Linked DNA regions of Homo sapiens: region 1 is linked to region 2. Evidence: promoter capture Hi-C in human tissues and cell types (Jung and others, 2019). All regions are on one chromosome and are shown on one strand. The core of a region is centred on a gene start or on the middle of the fragment in contact, and the rest is flanking DNA. Distances in the headings are between cores, read along the strand shown.

Region 1 (7,442 bases), core at 472-2,971, 79 kb before region 2:
TGGATAGTGAGCAACCTGAAATACCTGTATGTTGTGGCCATCGTCCCATTCAGTTTCTCATTCCTGTCTCTGTGTTCATTGTCCTTTCTGCCTGGAATACCTTCTTCCTCCCTGTTGCCCCTTCTCCAAGGCACCCCCATCTCTCCAATCCCCAGGCCATGTCCCTTCCCACAGGAAGCTTTCTCCTCCTGGAGTTTTCCTCCTGTAAAAGCTTCTGCTTACTTTTTCCCTGATGCTTAGTTGGTGGGATAATTTTATTTTATTATTATTATTTTTAACTATTAAGTTCAGGGGCACAGATGCAGGATGTGCAGGCTTGTTACATAGATAAAGATGTGTCGTGGGAGTTGGCTGTACAGATTATTTCGTGGTGTGATCATTTTAATACGGGTATTTCGAAGCTTCAAGGGACTGTGGATACAAAGGGGAACCCATTATGAGATTCCTGTCCCATTATGCCCAGAGATGTCTACAGAGCATCTCACATGGGCTCCAAGTACATGACATTTTGATGGGGCTGTTTTGACAGTCATTTTCATACCACGATTTTGAGGCAGCCACTAAGATGCAGCTGTTTTGACTTCAGAGACTTGGAAATGGTCACTTTGGCAAAGCATTTCCCAAGGCAGGGACATTTTGATGAGACATTTGAATACAGCCTTATTCCAGTTTATTCTTTTTCTTTTAACAATTTGTATTGCTAGGTAAGGGGAAAATGAACTCCTTTGCCCTGCTTTTGAGAAAAACTCAACCTATTATTTTTACCTTCACGGATAGAGTGGTAGTCTAAGAGGGAAGGGGCTTAGAGATGAGAGGAGAACTAGGCTGGAGCCTTTGGCAGAAGCACAGTCATGAAATCAGCTTACTACACTCACTCATCTCAGAAAAGGCCATCAGTCATTCCAAGCAATACATCTGCTCATGTCTGAGAGTTCACCTGCATCTTCAGTGAAACACCTCAAGTTTTCTCATCTATGCCTTAAAGACACTGAGAAGGTGACTATTTGGTCCACCTGTATGATCCCTTGGTCTTAAATCTGGACTGCATAGTAAGGCTCAATTAAATTTCTGACATGTCTCTCTCACGTCAACAATATTCTTAAACTATGATTACTATTTTGAAGCTTTTTTTTAAAATAAAGCACTGTTATTTTCTTAGCAGTTAACCCAATTCTATCAAATTATGAGAGATTTTTATTTTCAGTTTATGAAAGTAATACAGACCTATAAACATTTAAACCATGCTCAATGAAGTGAAAAACATAAATCTCTCATAATCATGGTGTACCTAGAAAGCAGAGAAAGGTTCAGGGATGTCATATGCACTGCTTGGGAAAACAAATCAATAACTAACAAAGCAATGCTTACACACTTTTGACAAGGCCATCAAAGCGTCCCCCACACTGAAATAACCTTTAAGCTGTATCAACACACCCAGCATCATGAACAGTTCCCAGAGAGTATCTTCTAGGTTACACTTATTTTCTTGATCCATGCCATCCGTACCCTGATTCCTCCCAACATCTCTCCCTCTTTGTCACTATCCTTGGGCTTCTGAAGTTTCCAGAGAATGTCTCAGGGCCACCATTGTTCCAAATGATAATGGTATCCATTCTGAGATGTGTGGATTTCAGGGCTCCCGACCCCGTCACTCTCAAGGAGCGAGGCTAGATTCAATCTCCGACTCTAGGTCACCTGTTGCCACCTGACAGACCTAAGAAGCACTGTGTGCACCCCACACTCCCCTCTTCACTGATTCTACCTGTCTCATGAAGCCCTTTGGAAAAACAACTCCTTCTGCTTGTGCCTGCTGCTCCCCTCTCCTTAAAGCTCAAGTAGTGCAGACCATTATTAGAGCAGGAGGAAGGCTCTGGGGCATGCTGCCTGGGTTTACATCCTGGCTACAACACTTGGGGATGCATGATCTTAGTGAAATTATGTAAACTCTCTGTGCTTCTGTTTCCTTATCTGCAAAATGGAAATGAGAGTTACAATGCCTACTCCAGGCAACACAGAATCTGTCTCAGTGCACCAAGTGTTGTGACGAGCTGTTGTGAAGAATGAAGTATTAACTAAGAACACACAAAATATTCAGATCAGTGTCCAGATTTGGGCAAACACTTGATAAATGTTAATTGTTATTTAAAAAGAGAAGACAGAAAAAGAAAAACACTAGTGCCCAGAGACAAGACTGCAGGTTGTCTCAGTTCTCACCTACCCCGTTTGTTGTACACTTGTGCACAATACTTTATCTTTGGAGGCTATCTCATACAAACTCTTATATAACCAGACTTCAGGTCATATCCAGGTCTCATGCTCTCTTTCACTCAGCTAGGACCATCCTACTACGTTATTCAGTTTCTTTTTCCTTCTTCCCTGCGAATTGCTGAGGTGATGAATCTCTCTTTCCCACTCATGTTTTCTCAGCACCAGGATGGCAACAGACACACAGATTTTTAATAGGTGGATGAATGAATGAATGGATGGATGATGGCGGTGTTTATATTGAAACCCTGAGTGCTGTCTCAAAATACTTTCATTCAAGATGGCTTGGTTCCTGAATTATATTTAAATGAATTTCATTTTATGAAATTGTACTGAATCTAGAGTAAAATTAAAATAGAACATACAAGAGAATCTTCTTTTAAGTGGGAAATTGGAAGTAAAAATATAAGGAAGATAAAGAATAAAAACACACGTTTTCCACAGAAAGACTGAACACCAAATGAATAACTTTTTCCCTCTTTAGTGTTTTGTTTCAGCATCATTATCCCACCATTTAGAGGATACGATGACTTATGGTCTTAAAATGAAGCAGTATATCATTAAAGCTTTATTTTCATGAAGATATTTTCTTCTAATTAAATTCAATACCATCCGGGGGAAGAATAGCTTATTCAACACAATACATAGAAATGCTTTTCCATGTCATAAAGAGCTCAAATAAAGGGTTCATGTTTTACTGTGAATCAAGGAAAAGCACACTCTGGTTTTACAGGCTTCTTTTGGCCAAGCATTTTCTCTTAAATGAGCAGTTTGGGCTTTATTTTACCAGTGAAGAAGAAGCCTAAAACTGTGATTAATTTACCATGGCTCAGATAAAACAGTATCAGAGAGATGAAATCAGTTTCTACCAAAAAAAAAAAAAATGTGATAGTGACCACAATTTCTTTAACTACTGTCACTGAAGCCTTCCTAAGCAAAAACAAGCAGATAAAGTACAACAAAAACTTATCACAAAAAATCCCCCCCAAAACAAGAACAACAGCAACAACAACAACAACAGCAACAACAAAACAAACCCTGAGATGCATTTAAATGATTGATGGTAAACTTCACCATGTTCCAGGGGGCTCTGCAATTTATTCGGCAAACCTTTAGGAAACCTCTGGAATGTATCAAGCATTGAGCTAAGCCTTGGAAATGTAAAGATGAAGAGAACACACAGGTGTTGCTTGCAAGTGAATCAAAGTCTAATAATTTTGGCAGATTTCTTCTAGCAATGTGCTCCAATAAGAAGCCTAAAGGGAAACACCTGTATGCATATGTACACACAGCTCTGTTTATTCCCTTAGAGACACATATTTGTTGGCTGCTGATTTAGTGAAAAGGAATGTAGTGAGGAAAAGTGCGTAAATAATTCATATATTTTTCTCCAGAAAGCTTTTATCCGGAATTCATATTTGAGAGTGACAAACTTTACCATTAGTGGAGTAGTGGTGTTAACAGTAGCAATAATTGAAACAATAGTTAGCAAGAGTGCAAGAAGTCTTATTGACTAAACTATTCTTAAAAATTTCAAAGCTCTATTTAAAACAAGCTCAGTTTTAAGATGATCAGGACATGGAGAGGAAAGCGTTTATGTAAATACATACAGAGGGAGGATCCAAAGTCAACAAAAGTCACGCCTCGTGCCCACATCTTGGTTGGTTTCTAATACCATTCTCAAATGAAATGAACCAGAACGTGAATAAATAGCTGATTCTAAGACTGGGGCAGGAAATATACAAGATGAGCTTGGAGCATCTTGTAGTGTCAGGAAGTAAAGAAGTGCTTCAAAACCAAAACGATGGGAGTGTGTCAAAGGGAAAGGAGAAGTCAACCTCAAGGAACACCCAATGGCCCAAACTAGAACAATTTGAGCATCAAGATAGATAGTGTAGTAACGGATTGTAATCCAAAGTATAAAATAAATATTCATGAGTTCTTCCAATATAAATAGCTGAATAAATAAACAAATGTGGAAAAGAGACAAATATACGGAATTCTGGGTAACTTATGCTCATAGTTCCTACTTAAGGAAGTGAGTATAGCTCTCTACCTACCTCTTAAGTGTGGGTTTTGCATAGTGACTTCCTTCCAAAGGGTATTACAGGCAAAGTGGGAAAAAGAGTAACTTTCCAATGGAGAAATCTGGAAAACATTACGTTGGCCAGATGATCAAGGTTAACAGAAGATCATGGTTATTAATAGTAACAGGTCATGTTGACAGTATGAATACTTGATGTTCTGTGAAGAGAATGGTACGTTACCTCTGTTGTCTTCCTTCCAAGTAACCAGAACCCCAGTCCAATCATGAGAAAAACATCTCACAATCCCATATTGAGGAACGGTCAACAAAATACCTGACTAATACTCTTCAAAACTGCCAAAGCCTTCAAAAATAAGGAAAATCGGAGAAATTGTCACAGCCAAGAGGAACACAAGAAGACATAATGTCTAAATGTAATATGCCATCCTGGAACAGAAAAAGAACATTAGATTAAAATTAAGCAAATCTGAATAGAGTACAAATTTTAATTAATAATAATGTATCAATGTTTGTTATTTAGTTATGACAAATGAGCCATGGTAATGTTAGATGCTAACATAGAAAATTGGGTACGGGGTATATGGAAATTCATTTCTTTGCAAATTTTCTGTGAATCTAAAACTGTACTAAAATTAATAATTTACTAAAAAAACGAATCAAATATCTAAAAGCAGCAAGAGTTGATACAGTTATTTCAATAAACGACAATACGTATGTAAATATTAAATAAACAAAATTGATACTCTATTTTGATTCTACTTACTATCTCACTACTAGATTGTGTAATGTGCTTCAGTTTAGTGTAAATCCCAAATATTTTGAAGTCTAAACGATAATATAATATTAACAATAAAAGTTCTTGAGGTACTCTTGTGTCTTTTCACCCAACTCTGCGCTTACCCCACTCACTAAACTAATTTCAGGAACTTTAGGCATTTTGAAAAGTTTTTTTAACCATATGGCTATTAAAGATGTTGTATATTGTTGTTTAAAATATACTTTCTGATGTGAATAATTCTTCTATTATCATATTTTCCCCATTTTTAAATGTAGTTGGTTGTTACTCTGTGTTACAGAAACAATGTTAGATTTCAAAACTTCCCTGTCTATACAGTGTAGTCACATTTTATGCAAATTTCAAATAGTGAAAAATAAACATATTAATAAAGTCTCAGTTTATGCACCAAAGTTTAAATAATCTTAATTCCTCAAATTAAACATTGATGAATCATGTTTAAAAGCTGACGGATCCAATACATTTTAAATTGTTTACACTATTACCACGTGGTGGCGCCATGTCAGCTGGTGAATGCAAAGCCTTGGCAAACCTTGGATTCCTCCTAAATTGCCTTGAGGAACTCTGACCTCGTCGGAAGAGCCGTCTATGTCCTGACTCTATCCTCCATTTTACAGGAGAGATAACTGAAGTCCACAGAGTGAAATTATTCCCCCACTTCCACACAGTCTGTTACTGAGCCAGGAATAGAGTGTACTTCCTATCACTTGGCTCTGTTCTCTCTGTCTCTCTCACTTTCTCTATGTGTGTGTATAGATATATACACAATATATAGTATACACATATTACACATATATAGTATATGCTTATATATACTATACATTTATGTAATATATAAATATATATTTACCTCATATAAGATATATAAATAATATAAATAAATATCATAAATATATAATATATGATAGGTATCTCTAATATATAAAAAATATATTTATGTAATACATATACAAAATTATATATAATATAGATACATAAGTATATAAGCAAAAGAAGTACATATACATTCATATATTTAATTTCCACAACAACAAATTTTATGGAGTAAAATGTACCTCTTAATGTCACTTTAAAGTTCATGCATATACATATCCAAAATATATTTATAAAATCTTGACTAAGTACAATTTTCCTTCTTTAGGTCCCTGTAACTTTCTATGCTGTGATTTTTGCTTAGCAAAATTTTTGTTGATACAACAAAATTTAGGAGCCATTAGAAAAATGAGTTAGAATCACACAGTTTTACTTAGAGGTATTTTCCCAAAGTATTGTTAAATGAAAATATAAAAAGCAAAAAAAATTTGTATTAGCATAATTGCATGTTTATAAACCAAATAATGACAAAATTAAAATATCCTGCAGAGTATGTACATAAATGTACAAGTCGTATAGAGGCATTTGAATGCAGTAAAAGTATGGAATAATTAATGTAAAGTTTATAATATGAGTTATCTTTGTAGGGGGAACAGGGAAGCCACATGAGGGGAAAAGTAGGAGAGACTAAGGAGAAAACCACATAAAAAGTGGAAAAACATTGCACACATACAAAATGCCTATATGTGATCACATTTATATAAAGTTATATTTATGTAAATATATATAAAATATATAAATTTAAATAGTTGGTTTTAAAGGTACTATAAATAAGGACACAAGAAAAAAGAAAATCTAGAAAAACTATTGATGGTAAAAAATGATAGTTAAGGTAGCAGGTACCTAATCTCCTAAAATAAAAATCTTTCTACAAAGCAATTAAAAATAAGACAAAAAACAATAACCTAATAGAAAAAAATGAGCTAACACCACAGCAGGTAGTTTACATAAGGAAAAACACAAATGGCTTTTACACATCTGTGAAGATGTGTAGTCTTATTCATAATCAGGCATATGAAAACTAAATCTGTAAGAAATTTTGTTTCAAATGCATCCTATTGGCAAAAAATTAATATTTTCTAAAGCCAAGTTTGGCAAAACTGTGAAGCAAGAGGACTCTTCTATACTGTTGATGAAAGCATACATTGGAACAGTTACGTTTGAAAGCAACTTGGCAATATGTAGTAAAGCTGAAGAATCCAAACCCTGTGACCCAGCAGGTCCCAGCAGGTCTGCTCCTATGTCGATGAAGAGATGTTTACAATGATGTTCATAGTAGCATTGTCACAAAGAGCAAAAATTGGAAACAGCCTAAATGGACCATCAATAGTAGAATAAATAAATGGTTATATATTCATTCAATGGATTACTGAGCAGTAGAAAGTGAATGAATCTGAGCTGCATAAATATCATGAGTGAATTATCACAAAATAATGTCGAGGACAAAAAGCACACTGCAGG
Region 2 (7,302 bases), core at 2,380-4,879:
TCCTTTTGTGAATCCAAAAATCTAAAAATCTGTGGAAACTATTTTATTATTTATTATCCTTGGGTGACAGAATAGTACCAGACGTTAATGAATTTGGTGATGAAACCAAATTGACAAAATTATTTAGTTTTTATTCATCCCACTCATGGCAAATATTTATACATTTTGCTGCTCAAACAATGTTTGGATACAGAGGGAAGTTCTAGACTACTTGGACATGGGATATAATATACTATATGGATCCTATTATTTAAATAAAATTCAAAATTTTCTGAAATTAGAAGCCTATCTGGCCCTAACGATTTGCAATTAGTAATTGTGGATCTGAGCTCATTTTCTCCTTTGATTTTATCAAGGAGAAATTCTAAATTATGTGCTACAATCTTGGAAATATTTCTTTAGGACCTTGAAGTTTTTGTGCCTCTATCATGAAGGAAGTAGCTGAGTCCAATTTTAACAAACAAAGGAGAACTCTAGATACAAATTACACAAAGGGACTGAAAATAATTTAAAACATGATGAAATATCAAGGAGAACAATTCAGAACTAAAGAATGTGAAGAGTTTTATGTATTTTATTCTTTATCATAAGTATGTGCTGAATGAATACATGTACACACAATATATATATATACACACACATATACATATAAAATGTACACATGTAAATATTTCATCAGCCTAATGACAGACTTGGAAATCAGAATTGTAGTTGCTAAATGTGTATGTGTATGCCTCATGCCTTATTCTCGCAATAGATCACAGTAGCAGTTCAAAAAATAATGCTTAAATCCAGTGCGGTGTCTCTGATGAAAAAAAAAAAAGATGCTTATTATAGATGTAAATACCCATACACACATAATCTCTACTCATTAGACTATTGGTCATCAAATTTTTTTCCAATGTAATTATAGAAAATTAGTACTTTTCAGTATTTTATCCAATAGAGTGCTGGAGTATTAGTTCCCAATGTATGGTGCCAACTTCCTGAGAGGATAGTTTTTGGGTGGTTATTGTTTACCTGAGTAACTCAGAAGGCATCTGAGTTGTGCACAAAGCAGCCTGTGTTGGGAGTAGAGTGAGTCAGGCACAAATCCTCTGCTTTATGCTGTGCTATGACTCCCAGGAAGTTCCACTTGCCCCCCTTTTTTTTTGAGACGGATTCCCTCATTGTTGCCAGGGCTGGAGTGCAATGGCGCGATCTCGGCTCGCTGCAACCTCTGCCTTCTGGTTTAAACGATTCTCCTGCCTAAGCCTCCTGAGTAGCTGGGATTACAGGTGCCCGCCACCATGCCCAGCTAATTTTTTGTATTTTTAGTAAAGACGGGGTTTCACTATGTTGGCCAGGCTGGTCTCGAAATCCTGACCTTGTGATCCGTCTGCCTCTGACTCCCAAAGTGCGAGGATTACAGGCATGAGCCACCACACCTGGCCTCCGCCTGCCCTCTTTAAGGAGAAATTCTGGGTCATCACTGTTACAAATAGGGCAGGGCATGGGATTTGGACAATCAGCATTTACTGAGGGTCCACCGTGTGCTGAAATCTGAAGACAACACTGGGAGCTGTTACAATGTTACCAGCAGGCAGAAAAGTCTTTTTCTGCAAGAACTCACAATATAAGCAGAGAACAGGGCAACCACACATTAAAAGATTTATCTAAGGTATATTAATAAAAGAGCATTGACAGTGTTATTAATATGCATTATGAATGTCAAATTCAATAACATATTCAGATGAAAACTATCAAGGCCTGGACTTGCTGAAGGCACTCTTTTCACCTTTGCTTTTGGTATGCAGGTAGATATTGCAGAATGTGCTCTTTATAGCGGTTAACAAGATGCTGTAATGGAAAAAGGATTACAGGGCACAGCTAAGTTCCCATCTAAAGTTGGTGCCACAGCAAAGCAATCAATCAACAAAGTGAAGACACCAACCCGCAGAATGGGAAAAAAAATACTCAAACACTACCCATCTGACAAGGGGCTAACAACCAGAATATATAAGGAGCTCAAACAACTGTAGAGGAAAAAATCTAATAATATGATTTAAAAATGATCAAAATATCTGAATAGACATTTCTCAGAACAAGACATACAAATGGCAAACTGGTATGTGAGAAGTGCTCAACATCATCGATCATCAGAGAAAGGCAAATCAAAACTACAAAGAGATATGACTTCACCCCAGTTAAAATGGCTTTTATCCCAAAACAGGCAATAACAAATGCTGGTGAGGATGTGAAGAAAAGGACACCCTCATACACTGCTGGTGGGAATGTAAATTAGTACAGCCACTATGGAGAACAGTTTGGAGGTTCCTCAAAAGAGAAAAATAGGACTGCCATATGATCCAGCAATCCCACTGCTGAGCATATACCCCAAAGAATGGAAATCAGTCTATCGGAGAGGTATCTGCATGCCCATGTATATTGCAGCATGTTTCACAATATCCAAGATTAAGAAACAACCTAAATGTCCATCAACAGACAAGTGGATAAAGAAATGTGGTACAGGTACAGAATAGAATTCAGCCAAAGGAAAGAATGAAATCCTGTCATTTGCAACAATATGGATGGAACTGGAGGTCCTTATGTTAAGTGAAATAAACCAGGCACAGAAAGACAAACTTCATATGTTCCTACTTATTTGTGGGAACTAAAAATGGAAACAATTGAACTCATTGAGATGGAAAGTAAAAGAATGGTTACCAGAAGCTGGGAAGGGTAGTGGGAGAAAAGGGGGAGTGTGGGGATGGTTAATGCATACAAAAAAGAGAGAGAATGTATAAGATCTAGTATTTGATAGCACAACAGAGTGACTATAGTCAATAATAATTTAATTGTACATTTAAAAATAACTAAAAGGGTATAATTGGATTGCTTGTAACACAAAGAATAAATGCTTGAGGTGATGGAAATCCCACTTACCTTGATGTGATCATTACATATTAGATGCCTATATCAAAATATATCATGTACCCCATAAACTCTATGGGGTATATTACTATATTACTATGTAATCACAGCAATTAAAAATTAAAATAAAAATAATAATAGAGTTGGTGCCAGTAAAAAGATGGGAGAATGAATTGTAAATGAAGGATTGGTTCTGGAGCCTCAGGACGCAGAGAGACAGAGCTCCAATACTGCCTCCTGGCAGTTCTTGAAAACATTCTACCCACAATATTGTGGCCATTATTTTAGAGTATGGGAACCCTTTTGTTTCCTAACAAAAAGTCATAAGTTTTACATTTCTTTGCCATGATGTGAAAGGAACTGATGATTTCTTTCTCAGAACTCTGTGGCCCTTGTGAGTGAAACAGAGAGGACAGGCCACGCTTCAACATGAATGCAGCAGCATCCTTTGGAAACAATCTCAAGACCTAACTGAAAACCCATGTTTCTAATTTAAGTATGAGACAGTAATTACTCATACAGCCAGAGAGGATTCCAAGTCCCTGCCTATTTGCCGCACTATCTAAAAACAATCAACTCATCTTTCAAATCTGACCAAACTACAAATGGTATGAGAACTCCATCGTTTAATAAGGATGTTCATTTTGGCACTTAGCAGCTTACGCGTGGCTCACAGATGGCATCTGTCTCGTTTTGCGTAATCCAATCATCCTGCACTACTGCGTCTCACACTTAGTCTCCAGGAGTAATTGAAAAGCTCACGGTGACAATTGTGTCTTCTTCCAGATGTCATCGCTATAAGGAGTGGGGCTTTCATCACCTCCTTGACGTAGGATGTGTACATGGCTCTCCAGGTCAGAGTTGCTCCAAGCAAGGTAAAGAGAAATTACTTCTTTGCATTGCCTTTCAGTTGCTGCCTAGCACTGGTGTAAATGAATATGTTCTATAAATGGCCTCTCTGTCAGTGGGCAACTTGTTTCACTTTTGGCTGGGTACCATACAGAAAACATTCTGCTGCACGGCTTGCATCTTGTGGTAATAGGGCAATATAAAGGCACCCATGCCCAAGAAAGGATTCTAAAACATGTAAATAGTCGCTGTTTAGAAGGCACCATTTTATTCGGAGGTAAGCTCTCTGGTATTAGCACCTGCACGTCTGCTATCGTTTTCTGAAATCATGACAGTTTGTTCTCAATCTTTTTTTCTTTTTTTTTTTTGCAGGGAGTGGCTTTTATTTTTGTAACTTCTAAAGGGTGCGCAAAATTTTAAATGCAAAGTGTTGAAACATTTCAAGCTGTAGGTTTGTTAGTTTCTTTTTCCCCCGAGGCTAGTGTTAATAGTTGTGTTTTACTTCAGTGCAAAAATACCCCTTTAAAAAAAAATCAAACAATCGAAAACAAGGAAATATGCAAAGCCTCAAAGCAGCTGTGTAAATTCATACAGGCTTTAGGCCTATAATGAGCCAGACTTAAGGGAATGATAGTGGAAAATCAGATTTTTACTTAAAAATTAAATTACAATTATGAGTGAGTGCTACATTCATTTTAGTAAAATATCAGCACCGTGTGTATTTCCTCAAGCTTTTTCTTTACACTACCATCATCACCACATATGTCATCAGTGAGAAATGTTGAGCATGACAACAGCTAAGAAAAATTTTCAAGGTCAGTAAAACATTATTTCAGGAAAAATATTTTTAAAAAGCTTATTTTTAAGGGGTTATTAAACTTCGTAATTTATGTATAGATTTGGGATTGAACTAGCAATAATAACTTCTGCTGAAGAGATAAAAATTAGAAGATAAAATCCTTTCTCTTAAGTAGCTTACACAAAGAATGGGGGCTCTATATTTAGTCGGGGCTTACACAGACCAGACAGACAGACACACACACACACACACACACACACACACACACACACACACACGCATTGCAGAGAAAATATCCAGATAGTTGCTGCAGTTCCTCACTATCTTAGAATCATCTGAGCTTCAAGTGTAGAATTAGAGCCTTAGAACATTAGAAGAATAGTGAATATGTTCAAAATAGATAGGTTGTTGACTATCTGAATTCTCATGATACATCCCTATAAGTTATGAGTTAACTTTTCTTTTAAGTGCTTGTTCACTGTCAATATTATCAGCACAAGAATTACTGATATGCTTATAAATTAATAGTAATAGCAAAAGTGACCTTCATCTAGAGATAACTCGAATACTCAACAAACATTTATTGAGTGCATGCAATGTGCCAGGCATTGGGCTAATTAAATCCCCCCTATCTGTACACTTTAAATGACAGAAAAGCTGACTCAAGGGAAAGAGTCATGGCCAAAGGCCATTTAATTAATTTGCTGTCTGGGAAAATAGCACAAGAACTGGGAAGAAAGCCCAAGTATGAGGACTGCTAAACTGTTCAGAATACAATGTATTCTACTCCAGTAGACGGCATGTTTCCTAACTATGTTAAACTAATGTAAACTTTCCTCTGTAAAACAAATGTTGTAAAAATCTCAGAAGCACAACACATTCCTGCATATCCTCAGAGTTGTTCACCTGAACTGGAGAATTTCATTCATTCAGGCAATTTCAGAGGGAACTACTTACCAGTAGGACGGAGCCTTTGCTGTGATTCTACAAGTGAGAGAGTCATATCTCATGATTTCTCCAGGAATTGTCCAAAGAACTACAATGCAGTCTTTCCTATGGGGAGAAGTAAGAGAGAAAGTATTATCTATTGGGAACATACAGTACTTAATGTTAAGAATTGTATACATGTTCAGAATACAAATCCCTTATGAAACTTTACCTGTAGATGAGTAGAACAAAACTCAGAAAGTAACCAGCCAATGTCACACACTTGTCAGTGATGAACTGGGGGAGAAACTCCAGTGGATCTGACTTAGAGTCCACATACTTTATTAATAGACTATGGTTCCGGCCAGGCGTGGTGGCTCATGCCTGTAATCCCAGCACTTTAGGAGGCCAAACCGGACGATCACTTTAGGTCAGGAGTTCGATACCAGCCTGGTAAACATGGTGAAACCCCATCTCTACTAAAAATACAAAAATTAGCTGGGTGTGGTGGTGCACACCTGTAGTCCCAGCTACTCAGGGAGGCTGAGGCAAGAGAATTCCTTGAAGCCGGGAGGCAGAGGTTACAGTGAGCTGAGATTGTGTCACTGTACTCCAGCCTGGGTGACAGAGCAAGACTCTGTTTCAAAAAAAAAAAAGACTATGGTTCCTACTATAGTGGTCTTGTCTTCCATTATTTCTTTCCTTCCTTCCATGATTATTATTCAAAATATATTTATTGAATACCTATGAAAGCCTGACCAATATTTTGGGGGCTGAAGAATTAAATGTGGTCAAATCAGTGTCTGTCTTTTAGAGACTGGAGAAAGAAATGTATACCTCCAAAAGTAGGTATGCTACAATACAAATTTGATGAGATCTATAAGACAAATATAATATTATGGAAGCAATTAAAATAAGATAGAGATTGATTCTGTCCTGCAGTGAGGGGTGGAGTGAGAAGATGATATATGAGCCAGACCTAGAGAATATAGCTACTTGCTCTGTAAAGAAGAGTGAAGCTACTGTAGGCAATGGGAACATTCTGCTTTGCAAAATCACACAAGGGCTTCCAGTTTCCATAGACTAAATGGAGAAGGCTATTACAGAAGGACTAGGCCTAGATTTCACAAAAGAATTCTCCTAAGTCTTCAAAGATCATATACTCCCAATGCTACTTAAATCATTTGAGTATAGAAAAACAAGAAAAGCCACAAGAAAGTTTTATGAAACAAGAAATATGTTGTCACCTAAACCATATAAATATAGTACAAAAAATAAACTATAGATCAATCTCACTTATGAATACAGAAAAATCTAAACATATTAGCAAACAGAACCCAAGAACTCGTCATAAAAATAAAACATCATGACCAAGTGACATTTATTCCAAAAATGTACGGATGGTTCAATATTAGGTAATCTACTAACATAATTTAGATGTTCATATATCTAAGCAGAAAATCATATGACCATCTTCACTCATCTTCATAGACGCTAAAACTGCCTTTGACAAAAATTGGCAACCGTTCCTGAACCACTCCTGATTTAAAATACTGAATAAAATAAGAACTAATGATTTTGTCTGATCAGATATATATATATACATATATATGTACATATATATACACATATATATATGTGTGTATATATATATATAAAAAACCACACATACACACACACATTACAATCCTAAAGCTGGTGTATTACTTAATGGAGAATACTAGAGGCATTTACAGAAAGGCCAAGAACAAGGCAAGAATGTCCACTAACTCCACTACTATCTAAACATATGTTAGGGTTGGGTGCAGTGTCTC

Evidence for each region. The method cuts DNA at HindIII sites, captures the fragments that hold promoters and counts their contacts. A contact is called where the count stands out against the background at its distance.
Region 1: a fragment that was not itself captured here is called in contact with the fragment with the promoter of TMEM244 in region 2 in 2 of the 25 tissues and cell types used here (adrenal gland and hippocampus).

What each region holds. Positions count from the first base shown.
Region 1 is chr6:129,934,908-129,942,349 of GRCh38, reverse strand. LOC105377999 (a long non-coding RNA gene) reads right to left here. Exons shown (of 8, transcript XR_942986.3): 6 at 4,626-4,738; 7 at 4,326-4,509. Among named protein-coding and RNA genes, the nearest start is that of TMEM244, 77 kb to the right of the region's middle. The HindIII fragment of the contact is 3,052 bases long and covers 196-3,247 here.
Region 2 is chr6:129,857,642-129,864,943 of GRCh38, reverse strand. TMEM244 (transmembrane protein 244) reads left to right here and starts at 3,629. Exons shown (of 5, transcript NM_001010876.2): 1 at 3,629-3,788. The coding sequence starts at 3,756. LOC105377999 (a long non-coding RNA gene) reads right to left here. Exons shown (of 8, transcript XR_942986.3): 2 at 5,519-5,614. RefSeq lists a silencer at 1,026-1,320. The HindIII fragment of the contact is 10,214 bases long and covers 1-6,279 here.